Regions from separate parts of the Homo sapiens genome. Here region 2 is linked to region 1. The links are contacts of gene promoters, found by promoter capture Hi-C in blood cells and fetal thymus (Javierre and others, 2016). All regions are on one chromosome and are shown on one strand. Each heading gives the region's core, a stretch centred on a gene start or on the middle of the fragment in contact. The rest is flanking DNA. Distances are from core to core; before and after follow the strand shown. Region 1 holds the start of LTV1 (LTV1 ribosome biogenesis factor). Region 2 has its middle 23 kb from the start of PHACTR2.

The links. Contacts are between HindIII fragments. The CHiCAGO score rates a contact against its expected background, and 5 or more counts as called.
Region 2: a fragment that was not itself captured here is called in contact with the fragment with the promoter of LTV1 in region 1 in 1 of 17 cell types (erythroblasts); the score reaches 5.4 in erythroblasts.

Annotation. Positions count from the first base shown.
Region 1 is chr6:143,841,144-143,845,342 of GRCh38, reverse strand. LTV1 (LTV1 ribosome biogenesis factor) reads right to left here and starts at 2,005. Exons shown (of 11, transcript NM_032860.5): 1 at 1,863-2,005; 2 at 726-857. The coding sequence starts at 1,865. RefSeq lists enhancers at 1,502-1,571, 1,762-1,971, 2,152-2,201. The HindIII fragment of the contact is 13,446 bases long and covers 1-4,199 here.
Region 2 is chr6:143,653,569-143,657,345 of GRCh38, reverse strand. It overlaps a transcript of PHACTR2 not described here. Among named protein-coding and RNA genes, the nearest start is that of PHACTR2, 23 kb to the left of the region's middle. The HindIII fragment of the contact is 2,851 bases long and covers 1,076-3,777 here.

The DNA of each region.
Region 1 (4,199 bases), core at 756-3,255:
CATACAACAAAACTGGCTTTACTGAAAAGCTAAACGTGGCCCATGTCCCCCAGTACTCTGTTTCCCAACACTCTGTTTCATAATATCTACACTTAATAAGTGTTGTGTAACATTAAGAGTCTTAATAAGTAGAGTCTAACATTAAGTCAATCTTTACCAGGCTCCCTTGCAAAGTTCCCTGAGCTAACCAAGGAGCTCAGATATTTTACATTTCCTAAGATGAGCAAGCAGGAGGCAAAATGCAGTTTGCGGTTATGAAACGGCAGGATCTTAGAGAAAGCACAGTTTGAGCATATATCGGTGCCCTAAATAACATCATGCCGCATTGTAGCTGGTGCTTTGGTAAATATTTACCATTATTCTACAAGATTTGCTCGTTTAAACATCTCAAATAAAGATCTTTGTCTTCCCAATCAAAATAATGTGAATGATGTAAAAATCACCAATTGTACTGAAAATTAACTTATAGATTATTTCCCAGAATATCAGTTATCTGAGAATAACAGCTGGCTAACAATTTATTAAAAACTATTAACATAGCAAGGCGTGGTGGCTCATGCCTGTAATCCCAGCACTTTTGGAGGCCAAGCTGGGAGGACTGCTTAAGTCCAGGAGTTCGAGACCAGCCTGGGCAACGTGCTAAGACTCTATTTATTTAAAAAAAAAAAAAGAAAAAAAAAACTATTGTCTACCTACAAACTGACTGGCTAAAGAACAGGACCTACTTTTTGTGTGGGCAATAGAACCCTCTGGGGTGCACTCTCATCTGCTGCTAAAGGATCTCGTTGGCTCCGGTGGACCAAGTGAAAAGACACAGCTTTCTTCTTCTCTATAAAGGGCTTTTTCTTCCTGTGAGGCTTCAAAGGAACAAAATCACAACAATTAATTAAAACAGAACAAAAAGACGGAGAATAATTCCATAGTCCACACATGCATCTTTAGTAGTCATGTTAAAGATACTTTTTAAAAATCTACACTTCTAGGGCAGGCAACATCAGCTGTGTTCTGCAGAATCCATACTTAACCTTCCTTCAACAAACATTCCTTGAGCACCTACTTTGTGCCAGACCTTGTTATGGGAACTGAGAATACAGAAGTGGGAAAGTCAGATAAAGTCCCTGTTCTTAGCAAGAAAATCAAGATAATTTCCGGTGAAGAAAATATAAGACAGTGACGTGAAAATGCCTTAAAAGCTACTTTACACTGGCTGCTCAGGGAAGGCCCCTGGCCGACTGAACTAGAATGACAAGAAGCCTGCCACAACATAATCTGGAGTAGACAGCTCCACACAGAGCATCTACCAACCAGTAAATAAAATCACGACACAAACAGCTAAAGTTTAATAAGATCCATCACCTCTTTCTACATTCTTACTTCGCTATTCAATTTTGATTCTCTAAACTGGGAAACCAATTAAGTGGCTTTACTTTGGGCCCAACCTTATGCTCTCCCACAAGTTCCCTTTCTCAGAGGAAACAGACAGGCAGACACCTGCCACTCCAACGCTGAGGGAGACCAGCAGCTCCCTCTGCTCGACCCCAAGAAGCACAGGGTTGCGCGTTTGTGTCGGCAGTCACCAGCTTTTAGTTAACCGAAATCACGCAGGGCTGCAGGCTCCCAGGGATAAAACAAAAAGGCCATTCTCCTCTCCGGGCCACATCCCAGGGAGGCTCGGCGGTGGGAGACTGTAACTTGCAAAGAATGCCCACGGTGGTGACGTTGGCCCATTTCGGGGTACCGTGCCGCAAGCAGCCTCTGGCATGACCCAGACCCGGGCCGCAGTAGCCAAGGTATTACCGGAAGCAGCCTGGCCTCTGCAAAACCACAGCGCTCGGCCGCCGAAACAAGCAAGGCTTGCTCACCATGCTGCAGCCGCGCGGCGCTCACCCCCAACAGGGGCGGCGATGACACCCTCGAAGTCCGGCGGGGAGACCAAGGTCCAGCTGAAGGCCGCTTCTGTAGGCCTCACCACACGTGCAGCCCCAGGACCCGGCGATAACGTCACCCAGCCGGCCGTGGAAACGGACCAATCGCCGAGGAGCTGATGGGTCGCGACCGGAAGTTACATAGGCTCGCTGCGTCTCCACGATCGCGAGAAGCCACCGGGAGGTGGGGCTAGCTCGGCTCCCACCCCTGGGCGGGCTGTACTTTTCCGGCCTTTAGTCTCCCGCCGGGCAAAGGGAATCGTGGGGGTCCTTAACGTTGAGGCGCCACAGAGGGGTTTCTGCTTGTGGACGAACCTTTTATAGCTCCCTCTACGGAGACCAGAGGGGACGAATCTAGCATCCCCCTTGACTTGTGTCCCTTACCTATTCCCAACCATAAAAAACAAAGCCGCGGACACGGAAGGGAGGCGACCACCCCGCTGGGGTGCTGGGGTCGCCAAGTTTCAGGTTCCCTCTCCGGGTGGGGGCGGAGTCGGTTGCCGTAGCAACGGAGGCTGGGGCCTTGCCTTTATAGACTGCATCAGACTTGATCAGGTTATATTTTCCACTGTTTCATGAACTGCTTTCATCTGCCCTGTTAACCAAACCCCCGAGACTCTGTTAACTGTAGAGGCATTTGAACTAATAAAATATATTCAGAATCTCTGGTGTTTGAATGTTAACTTTCTCCCCCTGTTTAAACAAATAGGCTATAAGCACGCATTCTTAGGAAGATTTCAGGCCGGCGTTGGCGTACTCACATAGCTTTTCTTGGACGAAAGTGTGTGGTAAATGCAGTCACTTTCATCAGCAGACCTTTTTTTCAAATTTGTTTCCCCAACTTCCCAGTTTCTGGTGACCTCTCAATGAATGGCTTACCCTGGATTGTGTCTTTATGCCGTAGGCATTATCACTGTAAGTATTTGTGGAGTATTATTCTTTTATTACAGTAAAAATTATAGAAATAGGCCAGGCGCGGTGGCTCATGTCTGTCATCCCAGCACTTTGGGAGGCCGAAGCGGGTGGATCACCTGAGGTCAGGAGTTCAAGACCAGACTAGCCAACGTGGTGAAACCCCGTCTCTACTAAAAATACAAAACTTAGCCAGGTGTGATGGCAGGTGCCTGTAATCCCAACTACTTGGGAGGTTGAGGCAGGAGAATAGCTTGAACCCGGGAGGCAGAGGTTGCAGTGAGCTGAGATCATGCCATTGCACTCCAGCCTGGGCGACAAGAGCGAAACTCTGTCTCAAAAATATATATATATAGAAATAATTTAGGTTAGGACCATAAAACTTGTCTTAGGATATTGCTTTGTAACAGAGATAATACATAGCACTCCTATGTGCCAGAGATTCGTTGTTATTATTCATTATATAGAATTAAAAGATCCAAGGGGGCAGTTTTCATTTCCTTTCAATCAGTTGTACTTACTGCTGTATCATCAGGGGCCTGATGCATGGGGCATATATGCTCAGTAAGTATTTATTTAAATGAATTAATGTTCTGGCACTTTATCTGAATCATCTCATTTCATCCTCACTGCAACACTATGAAAGAGACGCAATTATCTTCAGCATCTTACAAATCCTAAAAATGAGGCAAGAGAAATACAAACTAAGTACTAAGCCCCCCAGCTGACTGAACGGACTCCCTTTTGGCCAAGGGGACCCAGAGTAACCTTGAAAACTGAGTTCTTGCTTTGCCTTGTTATATCCCCTCCCTCACTAACCAGGATCAGGCTTTCTTCCCTAAGGGATAAATAGAAACCATCCCTTTCAAAAGACTCCACCACTGATATCAGCCTGTTGCTGCCCTCCGTTTTGTGCGTAACAGACTACCCACTATGGAATGGTTCTGGCCAATCTACGGAGCAGGCACAGTAAGGGTTTTATTGGCCTCTACTTCACCTTTTGACATCAGAGGCTGAAAACTCTTCAGATCATGCTGATGCCCCATTGTTTGTACCTAGGACCCATGAAGGGGCAATGAAGCTCAATTGCACATGTACATGTTTCTCCTTTCATAAATATTCATGATTCCTCCTATAGCTTATTAAATATGTATATTCTGCCACCCTGCTTCCTCTCACTTTGTCCCTCCCTCAGAATGTATGTTTTTGGCTTCAGGCTGGAGGCTACGCTTCCCAGCCTGTCAGGCCACTCTGCAGGCTGAAACCCTTATGCACCTCATCGTTCTTTAGGTCAAAAGCATAAGAAAGTTACCTTCTGATATGGTTTGGCTGTGTCCCCACCTTGGTTTGGTTGTGTCGCCA
Region 2 (3,777 bases), core at 1,252-3,751, 190 kb after region 1:
TATTCTACATCTTGATAGGGGTGTGGAGTGCATGGCTGTATGAAATTGACAAAACTCTGAATTGTTCACTGTATGTACATTGTACCACAATTTTTTTTTTTACTTAAATTCTGGGATACATGTGCAGAATGTGCAAGTTTGTTACATAGGTTTACATGTGCCATGGTGATTTGCTGCACCTATCAACCCGTCATCTAGGTTTTAAGCCCTGCATGCATTCGGTATTTGTCTTAATGCTCTCCCTCCCCTTGCCCCCGACCCCCAAACAGGCCCCAGTGTGTGGTGTTCCCCTCCCTGCATCCATGTGTTCTCATTGTTCAACTCCTACTTATGAGTGAGAAGATGCAGTGTGTACCACAATTTTTGAAAAGTAAAAAATAAAAAGTAGCCACATCAAACTTAGTTCAAGTTGAACTTATGGTTGGCCATTCAACATTCATAATATTTAAATTTTCGTGTGGCCAATCAAGCCTATGTTCATTTGAAACCTGGCAGATAGTTTTTTTGAAACTAAGTTTGGGAATTAACATGTCTATTGTGTTCATCTTTTTGCGGATTGCAAAACTAACAGACATGCTTTTTCTGTTTGAGTTATTAATTAAAATGCTTTGCTAATCAGTGATAACTCCAGAGGCTGGTGAAAAATCTTGATATTGCTTCTTCTATGATCACATCTATTCATTAATCAACACACCGGGTGTAATATTTACTCAACTACAATATTCATTCATCTACCTGTATCCTCATCTAGCATTGATGTCTCAGAGAATACTAGATCAGATTATAAAATCATAGACCAAACTTGCCCAACCTGCAGCCTGTGGGACACACACAGCCCAGGATGGCTTTGAATGCAGCCCAAAACAAATACGTAAACTTTCTTAAAACACTATGAGATGTTCTTGCAATTAAAAAAAAATCTCATCCACTATCATTAGTGTTAGTGTATTTTATGTGTGGCCCAAGACAATTCTACTTCCAATGTGGCCCAGGGAAGCCAAAAGATTGGACGCCCCTGTAACTGTTACAGCCAGGAAAGACTTGAGAGATCTCTCAGTTTGCAGACAAGAAAGCTTAGGCTCACAGGAGGTAACTGAGTTGCCAAGGTCAGAGGAAGTCCCTGGTCTGGACAGGAATGGACTGACCCCATATCCCAGGGCATGTCCCACCAGACAACCCTGCTAGAAGTCTCTGCGCCTGTTATTTCCTCTGCAGTTTGGCTTGGAGAAGAAAGTCAATGAGTGTATTTTATCCCACGATTTACCCTTCCCTCCACTGATGCTTCTTTTAAATATTTCCCCCGGTAATCACCTTAGGATAAGAAACTTAGTTCATGGAATAAAGAACTCTTTTTTGATCTTGATAGAGATCTAATTTTTGCCATCAACTAGGAGAAAATAGTGTATCTGCTGCCCGTCTGTTTTCTTCTTTTTCTCACATGGCAATTCGTAGGAAGCAACTTTAGTGAAAACTATATTTGATTCTCAGTAGACAGGTTTGACTCAGAAACTGAGGACATTTTACTAAAAATTCCGAAGAACTTTCATGTGTATGGAGAGATAATAGCAAGTATGTGGTAATAGGTGCAAAGTAAATAACTAAGTCTGAAACGTGAATAGAAAGTAAATCATAAATGCAAACACTACATTGCAGTAATCTTTTTCTCTTTAGCCTTTTCTTACAAAATCTGTGGCTTCCGTACAGAGTTGTAAATCTTTGCTTTGGATGTTTTCTAAGAAACATCTGAGAAAGCAAGTGAAGTCAAAGAAAGTATTAAAAATGCAGAAAAAATCTATAATTAATGACATATTCCATATTCTCTAATCATCTATATTTTGTGATTTTTAAATATCTTCTTTATTGAAATATAATCCACATAGCATACAATTCACCAATTTAAAGTATACAGTGGAATGGTTTTTAGTATATTCATAGAGTTGTGTGACCATCACTACCATCAATTTTATGGTATTGTCATCAACCCAGTAAGAAACCCTATGCCCATTAGCATCACTTCCTGTTCCCCACAATTCCCCCAACCCTAGACAACCACTAATGTACTTTCTTTCTCTAGGAATTTGCCTATTCTGGACATTTCATATAAATAGAATCATACAACGTTCATCCTGGTTTCTTTCACTTAGCATGATGTTTTCTTTTTTTTCTTTTTCTTTTTTTTTTTTTTTTTGAGACGGAGTTTCACTCTTGTTGCTCAGGCTGGAGTGCAGTGGCACGATCTCGGCTCACCGCAACCTCCGCCTCCCAGGTTCAAGCAATTCTCCTACCTCATCCTCCCAAGTAGCTGGGATTACAGGCATGTGCCATCACACCCGGCTAATTTTTTATTTTTAGTAGAGATGGGGTTTCTCCATGTTGGCCAGGCTGGTCTTGAACTCCTGACCTCAGGTGATCCACCCACCTCGGCCTCCCAAAGTGCTGGGATTACAGGCGTGAGCCACAGTGCCCGGCTAGCATGATGTTTTTAAGAGTCGTCCATGTTGTGGCATGTATCAATACTTCATTTAGTTTTTGTTTATTTGTAGAGACAAGGTCTTGCTCTGCAACCTAGGCGGGAGTGTGGTGGCATGATCATTGCTCACTGCAGCCTTGAACTCCTGGGCTTAAGCAGTCCTCCAACCTCAGCCTCCCAAGTCACTAGGACTACAGGCGTGCACCACCATGCTTGGCTAATTTTTTACTTTTTGTAGAGATGGAGTCTTGCTATGTTGCTCAGGCTGGTCTTGAACTCCAGGCCTCGAGTGATCCTCCCACCTCAGTCTCCCAAAGTGCCAAGATTACAGGTGTGAGCCACAGTATCCAGCCTTTATTTTTTTTAATTGGCAAATAATATTCTATTGAGTGGATATAGTATATTTTATTTACGAATTCATCAGTTTGATGAACATTTGGGTTGTTTCCACTTTTAGGCTGTTAAGAATAATGCTGCTCTGCACTTCATAAACAAGTTTCTGGTGAATATATGTTTTCATTTTTTTGGGTATATACCTAGAAGTAGAATTGCTGTTCATATGGTAACTCTATGATTGATTGTTTGAGGAACTGCCAGAGTGTTTTCTAAAGTGACTATATCATTTTAAATTTCCACCATCAATTTCTCCAAATCCTTGCAAACACTTGTTATTACCTGTCTTTCTGATTATAGACATTCCCATGGGTATAAAGTGGTCTCTTGTGGTTTTGATTTGTATTTCCCTGATGGTTAATGATGCTGAGCATCTTTTCATGTGTTTATTAGATATCTGAATATCTTCTTTGGAGAAATGTCTTTTCAAATCCTTTGCCCATTTGAACATTGGAGTATTTGTCTTTTTATTATTGCATTGTAATTGTTCTCTATATAGATACTTCCCTTTTCAGATACAACATTACAAAACTTTCCTCCCATTCTCTGGGTAGTCTTTTCACTTTATAGATGGTGTCCTTTGAGCCACAACATTTTTAGTTTGATGATGTCCAAATTATTATTGTTTCTTTTGTTTTTCGTGCTTTTAGTGTCATATTTTAAAGAAATAATTGCCTAATTCAAGGTCATGAAAATTTACACCTATGTTTTCTTCTAAGCCTGTTATAGTTTTAGCTCTTACATCTAGGTCTTTGATCAATCTTGAGTTAATTTTTTAATATGATGTAAGGTAGAGTTCTCACTTTATTCTTCTTCACATAGATATCTAGTTGCCCTAGCACTGTTTGCTGATAAGACATTTCTTTCCCCATTGAATTGTCTTGGCATCCTTGTTGACAACCAATTTTCTAAAA